Regions from separate parts of the Homo sapiens genome. Here region 1 is linked to region 2. Evidence: promoter capture Hi-C in human tissues and cell types (Jung and others, 2019). All regions are on one chromosome and are shown on one strand. The core of a region is centred on a gene start or on the middle of the fragment in contact, and the rest is flanking DNA. Distances in the headings are between cores, read along the strand shown.

Region 1 (4,551 bases), core at 1,513-4,012, 250 kb before region 2:
TTGAGAAAGTCTGACTTTGTCACCCAGGCTGGAGTGCAGTGGCATGATCTCAGCTCAGTGCAACCTCTGCCTCCTGGGTTCAAGTGATTATCATGCCTCAGCCTCCCAAGCAGCTGGGATTACAGGCATGCACCACCACGCCGGGCTAATTTCAGGTTTTTTTGTTTTTTTGGTTTTTTTTTGAGACGGAGTCTCGCTCTGTTGCCCAGGCTGGAGTGCAGGGGCGTGATCTCAGTTCACTGCAAACTCCGCCTCCCAGTTTCAAGCGATTCTCCTGCCTCAGCCTCCCAACTAGCTGGGATTATAGAAATGTGCCACCACGCCTGGCTAATTTTGTATTTTTAGTAGAGATGGGGTTTCTCCATGTTGGTCAGGCTGGTCTCGAACTCGTGACCTCAGGTGATCCGCCCACCTCGGCCTCCCAAAGTGCTGGGATTACAGGCGTGAGCCACTGCACCCGGCTTCCAGCATTTTTTTTTTTTTGAGAGAGTTTTGTTCTTGTTGCCCAAGCTGGAGTGCAATGGCACAATCTCAGCTCACTGCAACTTCTGCCTCATGGGTTCAAGTGATTCTCCTGCTTCAGCCTCCTGAGTCGCTGGGATTACAGCCGCCTGTCATTACGCCCATCTAATTTTTGTATTTTTAGTAGAGACAGAGTTTCACCATGTTGGCCAGGCTGGTCTTGAACTCTTGACCTCAGGTGATCCACCCACCTCAGCCTCCAAAAGTGCTAGGATTACAGGCGTGAGCCACTGCGCCTGGCCTGTTTTTGTTTTTGTTTCTTTTTTGAGATGGAGTGTCACTCTGTCGCCCAGGCTAAAGTGCAGTGGTGTGATCTCAGCTCACTGCAACCTCTGCATCCTGGGTTCAAGTGATTCTGGTGCATCAGCCTCCTGAGTAGCTGGTATTACAGGCATGTGCCACCATGCCCAGCTAATTTTTGTATTTTTAGTAGAGATGAGGTTTCACCATGTTGGCCAGGCTGGTCTTGAACTTCTGGTCTCAAGTGAATTGCCTGCCTGGGTCCATTCCAAATTATGAACCAAAAACTCTTCTTCCTGCTTCAGACTTGGTTCTTAGCCTGGACAAAATGTAAACATTCAACCCAGTCCCTCCATGCCCTCTTTGGACTTGAGGTCAAGGCAATGTTCTGTTGTCAGAAGGCCCTAAGTTTAAACCCTGGGTCTGTTGCTTGTAGATAGCATGATTCTGGAACAGGTATTTCAGGTCTCAGAACCTTAGCTTCTGGGAATTGGAAATAATTCCTACCTGAAAGGGTTACTAGGATTTTTTTTTTTTTTTTTTTTTTTTGAGACGGAGTCTCGCTCTGACGCCCAGGCTGGAGTGCAATTGCGAGATCTTGGCTCACTGCAACCTCCGACCCCTGGGTTCAAGCGATTCTCCTGCCTCAACCTCCCAAGTAGCTGGGATCACAGGCATGCGCCACCACTATGCCAGGCTAATTTTGCATTTTCAGTACAGCCAGGGTTTTGCCATGTTGGTCAGGCTGGTCTCGAACTCCTGACCTCAGGTGATCCACCCACCTAGGCCTCCCAAAGTGCTGGGATTACAGGTGTGAGCCACCGCACCCGGCCAGTTACTAAGATTTCATCAGCTAGCATAGACTGGGATTCCGGCCTATTGCCTAGTGCATAGTACTGATTCGTCAAAATACTGGTTTTCCAAATCTACCAACACATCTGGGACAAGAAGTTTGGATCTCAGCTGTGGGACCCGTGCTCGTGGTGCTTGGGTGGGCAGGAGGGCAGGGACTTACCTTGGCCTCCTCCAGGGCCACTGGTGACTCTGCATTACAGGCGGTCTGGTTCGGAGTGGCCATCATCTTCTGTTCCAAATCTTTCAGCAGACGCCTGGAACTAGTGACACCTGCTTTGAACAACAACAGAAACCTAAATCCTGAAGGAACGTCAGGAATACTCTGGCTGCCCAGAATTGTTTGCCCAGGCAGTGGCAGCCATTTTGTACCCCAGCCCTTCATACCCTTATTCTCAAATGCAGGCCCCGAAGGCTGCCTCCACCGCTGGTTTTCACACCTCCAGCCAGCAAGGGGCCAAATGGGATTCAGGGGCCGTCTTCTCTGTCCTGCTCCTCGGGTCCCTCACCAGGACTCATGTCCTGTACTGTCCTCCTGGAAGTCACCGAGGCCCAGGTTGGCAGCCAGGAAGCCAGGTGTAAGTTTTGTTTCCCCAACCACCAAAGGGGCAAAGGAGGACTGCCTGGGGAGGCTGGGAGTGCAGCGGGGCTGCTGCTGCCACGGGAGAACATGGAGCAAGCTCACGAGTCCTTCCCCACTGTCTCCAGTGGCCCCAATCTTGATGCAGCCCTGCACCCCCAACCTTCTCCCCAAGCTGGGCTCCAAAGGCCAGAAGCACAGCTGGGACCTGGGCCAGCCTAGTGCTGAGGACTTTTCCTCTAAGGTCCTGGCCTGCCTCCCTCCTTCCTCTCAGAAAGGGAAACAGGAGAAAAGGGGAAAGAGGTCTTTGCACTACATGCAGCTGGGAGGGAAACCCAACTAGGATAAGGATGGATTTCTTGGAAGAAGGGAGACAGTCATGGAAAGAGGTTTTGCAAAGGTGGAACTGACCTATTCGCTGTCAAGGGCTATGCACACCACTACATCTGTGTGCCTTTCTGTGCGACTGCCTGTCGGTGCAATTCCCAACGCCTGAGCCCTACCTCTTGCTGCAGTTGCAGCAGCTCTGGTCAAGCCGCTCAGGCCACTAAGATGGGGGGGAAGAGAGAGCCTGGACGCGCGGTGCCTGCTGGGGATTGTAGTTCTTCTGGCCTGAAAAGCGATCCAAGGGCCTGTAACGTCAACAGCCACACCCGAGACTCCAAAACCCATCTACCCTTGCGCGGGGGCAGACCGCGCGCGCATCACTGCCTTCTTTGATTGGTCAAGCCTTCTGCCAATATTCTCGCTTTTTTGGCAACGATTAGCTGTGAGGAGGCACAACTGGACCCGCCTTCTCCGAACTCAATTAAAGAGTTCATTGATGGCGTTAATCTTTACGGGGCAGAAAATAGATCCGGCTAAGGTGGGCGGGGCAGCAGGCGCGGAGGGATCCTTGGCCTTTGAGGAAGGCGACGAGAAGCTCGGCGGCCATCGCCGCCATTTTGGGCTGGGAGGAGGCAGCGGAGGGACTCGCTGCGCAGTGAGAGCACCCCGTGGGGGGTGGTCCGGGCGCGGGGAGAGGCCGGGCCGAGTGGGCTACCTGAAGTGGCGGCGCCGGGAGACGGCGGGAAGTGGGACCGGGGGCCAGGGAGGGTGAAGGTTGGAGTCTCCTCGGCCGAGCCCGGTCCTCAAACCGTCCCGGCAGCCCCGCAGCCTCGCCTCTCACAGAGTGCGGGGTTCTTCGGTAATTACCGCGTGTTTCCCGAGACCCCAGAAGGGGAGAGGCTGGTGAAACGGCTTCCCTCTGCGGTCTTTCCACAGGGGCGCGGATCCTGAGGCCGAGCTCTGCCAGCTTCCCTCCCCACCCCCATTCGGCCTGGGTATGGCGGCGAGGCCCCGCACAGAGGGACTCCCACTTCGACTGGAGAGGTGGGGGCGACGCCAGATTCCAGAGGCTGGCGCCGCGGGGGAGGGCGGAGGTCGCAGGTCTGGCCACAAGTCGGCGTGGCAGTCAGCTGGAGGCTCCGAGAGCGGAGATCCCAGTGCACCCACCTTACCTCGCTTACACCAAAGCGCCATCTCGCCGCCCGGGTTGCGAAAAACCACGACCCTCTTAAACTACTGTAGCAACCACTAATTCCCCCTGGGAGCAGCTAGAGAGGGGCACTTGGAAACCTTCACGAGCTCGGTGCCTGAAGGTCTCTGAGGCTCTTGCCCTCAAGATCTCTCCCATTCAGCCCCGATTCTCCGGACAACCTGACCTAGCATGTCGCCAGCCTCTTGGTGAAACGCCTAAAGTGTGCTGCCCCACTTCTCTTGAAAGTTTACACCGAAGGGATGAGGTTTTGCCCTTTACAGGGTTGGGGCACAAAGTCGGAGTCGCTGCGGCTCCGAAATAGAAACGGAGTTGCCCATTTCGTATGCTTCATCAACATCTGCTTGCATTTTGAAATCCTAGTCTTAACTTTTACACAACTTTTAGAGAAATGGCTGCCCTCCTAGAGGGAAAAACGAACTACAGTAATTCCAATTCCAATGTAATCTTTGTAAGACTACAAAATCTTTCCAGTTTAAAGATTTTTCTTTTCCCACAGACTAAACAAAGTCAGAGTATTTTGTGTTCTACTGGTGCATTGTTACTAGGTAACCTCAATTTTTTGAAATTCCAAGTAATTGAAGGATCACTTTTGTAGATCCTAAATGCTACCAAAAAAGAAACCAGTTTTTATCTACTTCATATGTATAGCGTTTAAGAGATGAGGAGACCTGCTTTGAAAGAATAAACTCTTAACCTTACATTATAGCTGTAGCAGCTTCTTAAAGATTGAAGTTTGATGTGAAGTTCTTTTATTGAATTGCAGGTTAAACCATCTTACTTCCTACTGCTTGAAATCTAAATCCAGAGAGATTTGTGG
Region 2 (4,177 bases), core at 1,678-4,177:
CCTATGACAGGGGTCCACGGAGGTGGCTGATGGCAAAAGCTGGGGGACTCCAACTGCTGATGCTGAAACAAGCTTGTGTCTCACATACACAGGGACAGTTCACTGAGCTTCAATGACAGGCACCTCCTGCTCATCACATCTTTTCTCTCTAGGACAGCTTTGCCCTTATTTTAACTAGACTTCCCTTGAACCAAAAGGGAAGGCTACATGCTGTGACTTGCTGGGCAGCCTGGAAAGGCGGGCCACTCCTAGCCACAGAGATGAGACAGAGTTCAGACAAGAGCTTATCCCCAGTCTTCCTTTTCTATTTTGTTTATTTTATTTTATTTTTTTATTTATTGAGACAGAGTCTCTGTCACCCAGGCTGGGGTGCAGTGATGCGACATTGGCTTACTGCAGTCTCCACCTCCTGGGCTCAGGTGATCCTCCCACCTCAGCCTCCCGAATAGCTGGGATCACAGTAGTGCACCACCATACCTGGCTAATTTTTTTGTATTTTTTGTACAGACAAAATTTCACCACATTGCCCAGGCTGGTCTCGAACTCCTGGACTCAAGCGATCCGCCCACCTCAGCCTCCCAAAGTGCTCGGATTACAGGCATGAGCCACTATGCCCAGCCTTGCTCTTCCTTTAAAGCCTCCTGTCCTTCCCCAGGTCCCCAGTTCATAGCAGGATCAAAGGTCACTGGGCGCTCACCCCGTCTTCAAGATGCTCTTTCCTATGTCACTGCTTACGCCCAGGTCAGATGTGACTAGAGCCTAAGGAGCTCCCACCTCCCTCTCTGTGCTGGGACTCACAGAGGGAGACCTCAGGAGGCAGTCTGTCCATCACATGTCCAAATGCAGAGCATACCCTGGGCTGGGCGCAGTGGCGCACAACTGTAATTCCAGCACTTTGGGAGGCTGATGTGGAAGGATCACTTGAGCCCAGAAGTTCTAGACCAGCCTGGGCAACATGGCAAGACCCTATCTCTACAAAAAAAGTTAAAAAATCAGCCACGTGTGGTGACACACACCTGTAGTCCCAGCTATTCAGGAGGCTGAGGTGAGGGGATCACTTAAGGCTGGGAGGTTGAGGCTGCAGTGAGTCGTGGTTGCGCCACTGCACTCCAGCCTGGGCAACAGTGAGACCCTGTCTCAAAAGACAAAAAAAAAAAAAAAAAAAAAAAGAACATATCCTGGTGTGGAGTAGGGGACGCTGCTCTGACAGAGGCTCGGGGGCCTGAGCTGGCTCTGTGAGCTGGGGAGGAGGCAGACAGCCAGGCCTTGTCTGCAAGCAGACCTGGCAGCATTGGGCTGGCCGCCCCCCAGGGCCTCCTCTTCATGCCCAGTGAATGACTCACCTTGGCACAGACACAATGTTCGGGGTGGGCACAGTGCCTGCTTCCCGCCGCACCCCAGCCCCCCTCAAATGCCTTCCGAGAAGCCCATTGAGCAGGGGGCTTGCATTGCACCCCAGCCTGACAGCCTGGCATCTTGGGATAAAAGCAGCACAGCCCCCTAGGGGCTGCCCTTGCTGTGTGGCGCCACCGGCGGTGGAGAACAAGGCTCTATTCAGCCTGTGCCCAGGAAAGGGGATCAGGGGATGCCCAGGCATGGACAGTGGGTGGCAGGGGGGGAGAGGAGGGCTGTCTGCTTCCCAGAAGTCCAAGGACACAAATGGGTGAGGGGACTGGGCAGGGTTCTGACCCTGTGGGACCAGAGTGGAGGGCGTAGATGGACCTGAAGTCTCCAGGGACAACAGGGCCCAGGTCTCAGGCTCCTAGTTGGGCCCAGTGGCTCCAGCGTTTCCAAACCCATCCATCCCCAGAGGTTCTTCCCATCTCTCCAGGCTGATGTGTGGGAACTCGAGGAAATAAATCTCCAGTGGGAGACGGAGGGGTGGCCAGGGAAACGGGGCGCTGCAGGAATAAAGACGAGCCAGCACAGCCAGCTCATGTGTAACGGCTTTGTGGAGCTGTCAAGGCCTGGTCTCTGGGAGAGAGGCACAGGGAGGCCAGACAAGGAAGGGGTGACCTGGAGGGACAGATCCAGGGGCTAAAGTCCTGATAAGGCAAGAGAGTGCCGGCCCCCTCTTGCCCTATCAGGACCTCCACTGCCACATAGAGGCCATGATTGACCCTTAGACAAAGGGCTGGTGTCCAATCCCAGCCCCCAGCCCCAGAACTCCAGGGAATGAATGGGCAGAGAGCAGGAATGTGGGACATCTGTGTTCAAGGGAAGGACTCCAGGAGTCTGCTGGGAATGAGGCCTAGTAGGAAATGAGGTGGCCCTTGAGGGTACAGAACAGGTTCATTCTTCGCCAAATTCCCAGCACCTTGCAGGCACTTACAGCTGAGTGAGATAATGCCTGGGTTATGAAATCAAAAAGTTGGAAAGCAGGTCAGAGGTCATCTGGTACAGCCCTTCCTTCCCTTTTTTTTTTTTTTTTTTGTGAGACAAGGTCTCTCTCTGTTGCCCAGGCTGGAGTGGCGCAAACACAGCTCACTGCAGCCTCAACCTACTGGGCTCAAGCAATCCTCCAGCCTCAGCCTCCCAAAGTGCTGGGATTACAAGCATGAGCCACCCCACTCAGCCCTTTCCTTCCTTTTTAATTGATGCATAATAATTGTAAGTATTCATCATGGTCCAACCAACCCTTTCTTGACCCACCTTCCTAGAGAGAGGGTCCTCTTGCTTCAGCGGTCAGGGCCCCAGACCCATGGTCTGGCTCCAGGTACCACCTGCCTCATGCAGGAGTTGGCGTGCCCAGGAAGCTCTGCCTCTGGGCACAGTGACCTCAGTGGGGTGAGGGGAGCTCTCCCCATAGCTGGGCTGCGGCCCAACCCCACCCCCTCAGGCTATGCCAGGGGGTGTTGCCAGGGGCACCCGGGCATCGCCAGTCTAGCCCACTCCTTCATAAAGCCCTCGCATCCCAGGAGCGAGCAGAGCCAGAGCAGGATGGAGAGGAGACGCATCACCTCCGCTGCTCGCCGCTCCTACGTCTCCTCAGGGGAGATGATGGTGGGGGGCCTGGCTCCTGGCCGCCGTCTGGGTCCTGGCACCCGCCTCTCCCTGGCTCGAATGCCCCCTCCACTCCCGACCCGGGTGGATTTCTCCCTGGCTGGGGCACTCAATGCTGGCTTCAAGGAGACCCGGGCCAGTGAGCGGGCAGAGATGATGGAGCTCAATGACCGCTTTGCCAGCTACATCGAGAAGGTTCGCTTCCTGGAACAGCAAAACAAGGCGCTGGCTGCTGAGCTGAACCAGCTGCGGGCCAAGGAGCCCACCAAGCTGGCAGACGTCTACCAGGCTGAGCTGCGAGAGCTGCGGCTGCGGCTCGATCAACTCACCGCCAACAGCGCCCGGCTGGAGGTTGAGAGGGACAATCTGGCACAGGACCTGGCCACTGTGAGGCAGAAGTGAGGAGGGGATGGGGAAGGGGGGCCTTGTGAGCAGAAGGGGCTGAATCCCCAAGAAGGAGTGCCCGAGAAGTCTCAGGGAGGGGCCGAACCTCCCTGCTCCCTGGGCCTCCCTACCTCTTGATGGGGCACTATCCTTGCCCCCCAACATGATGGGAGGGACCAGAAACAGGCCCAGGGCCCCGGGGATCTGATGCCCGCATGCCTTCTGCCAGGAGTCCAGGGTCCCCTCAGCACCTCCCTACTGGGGAAAGCAGTGCAGGAGCAGCGGGGCCCCTGTGTTTCATTCATGGCTGGGCTTTGTGACTGTGGGCAGCGAGCTCACCTATTCTGAGCCTGTGTCCATATAAAGGAGGAGTTGGAAGCGGAGAAGGTTGATGTCCATGAGGGAGATTGGATTCTGGGGTGAAGAAAGTGAGGGAAAGAGCAGGCAGGTCTGGGCGCAAAGCACAGGTGACTGCCTGCCACCAGCTTGTGACCCCCATCAAGTTACTTTGACTTGCACAGCTGTGAAGCGGTGGTCATAATAAAATTCATTTCAAAAGGTGGTTACCTGGGATCAGAGGAATCCCCAGGGGCATGGCGCTTCACTGAGCTGACAGGACATGCATGTGTGCCTTCAAGTGCAGGAGGACATGTGCGTGTGTGTGTGTGTGTGTGCAACAGTGAGTGTATGCTTGTGGATGCGCCTGTGTGAGCAGAAGCAGGTGCACCAACCCTGATAAGGCACCTTAGTAATGAGTTAAGGCAAAAGCCCACATCTGCTCATCCTCCAG

Evidence for each region. Contacts are between HindIII fragments. The study calls those that stand out against the background at their distance.
Region 1: a contact is called between the fragment with the promoter of HEXIM2 here and the fragment with the promoter of GFAP in region 2, in 1 of the 25 tissues and cell types used here (lymphoblastoid cells).

Annotation. Positions count from the first base shown.
Region 1 is chr17:45,160,086-45,164,636 of GRCh38, reverse strand. HEXIM2 (HEXIM P-TEFb complex subunit 2) reads right to left here and starts at 2,762. Exons shown (of 4, transcript NM_001303441.2): 1 at 2,606-2,762; 2 at 2,002-2,149; 3 at 1,778-1,887. The coding sequence starts at 1,843. HEXIM2-AS1 (HEXIM2 antisense RNA 1) reads left to right here and starts at 3,099. Exons shown (of 3, transcript NR_186789.1): 1 at 3,099-3,176. RefSeq lists enhancers at 2,523-2,652, 2,663-2,862, 2,280-2,895, 3,013-3,242, 2,896-3,511 and 1 more. The HindIII fragment of the contact is 41,438 bases long and covers 1-4,551 here.
Region 2 is chr17:44,914,250-44,918,426 of GRCh38, reverse strand. GFAP (glial fibrillary acidic protein) reads left to right here and starts at 2,927. Exons shown (of 9, transcript NM_002055.5): 1 at 2,927-3,401. The coding sequence starts at 2,941. The HindIII fragment of the contact is 9,658 bases long and covers 1-4,177 here.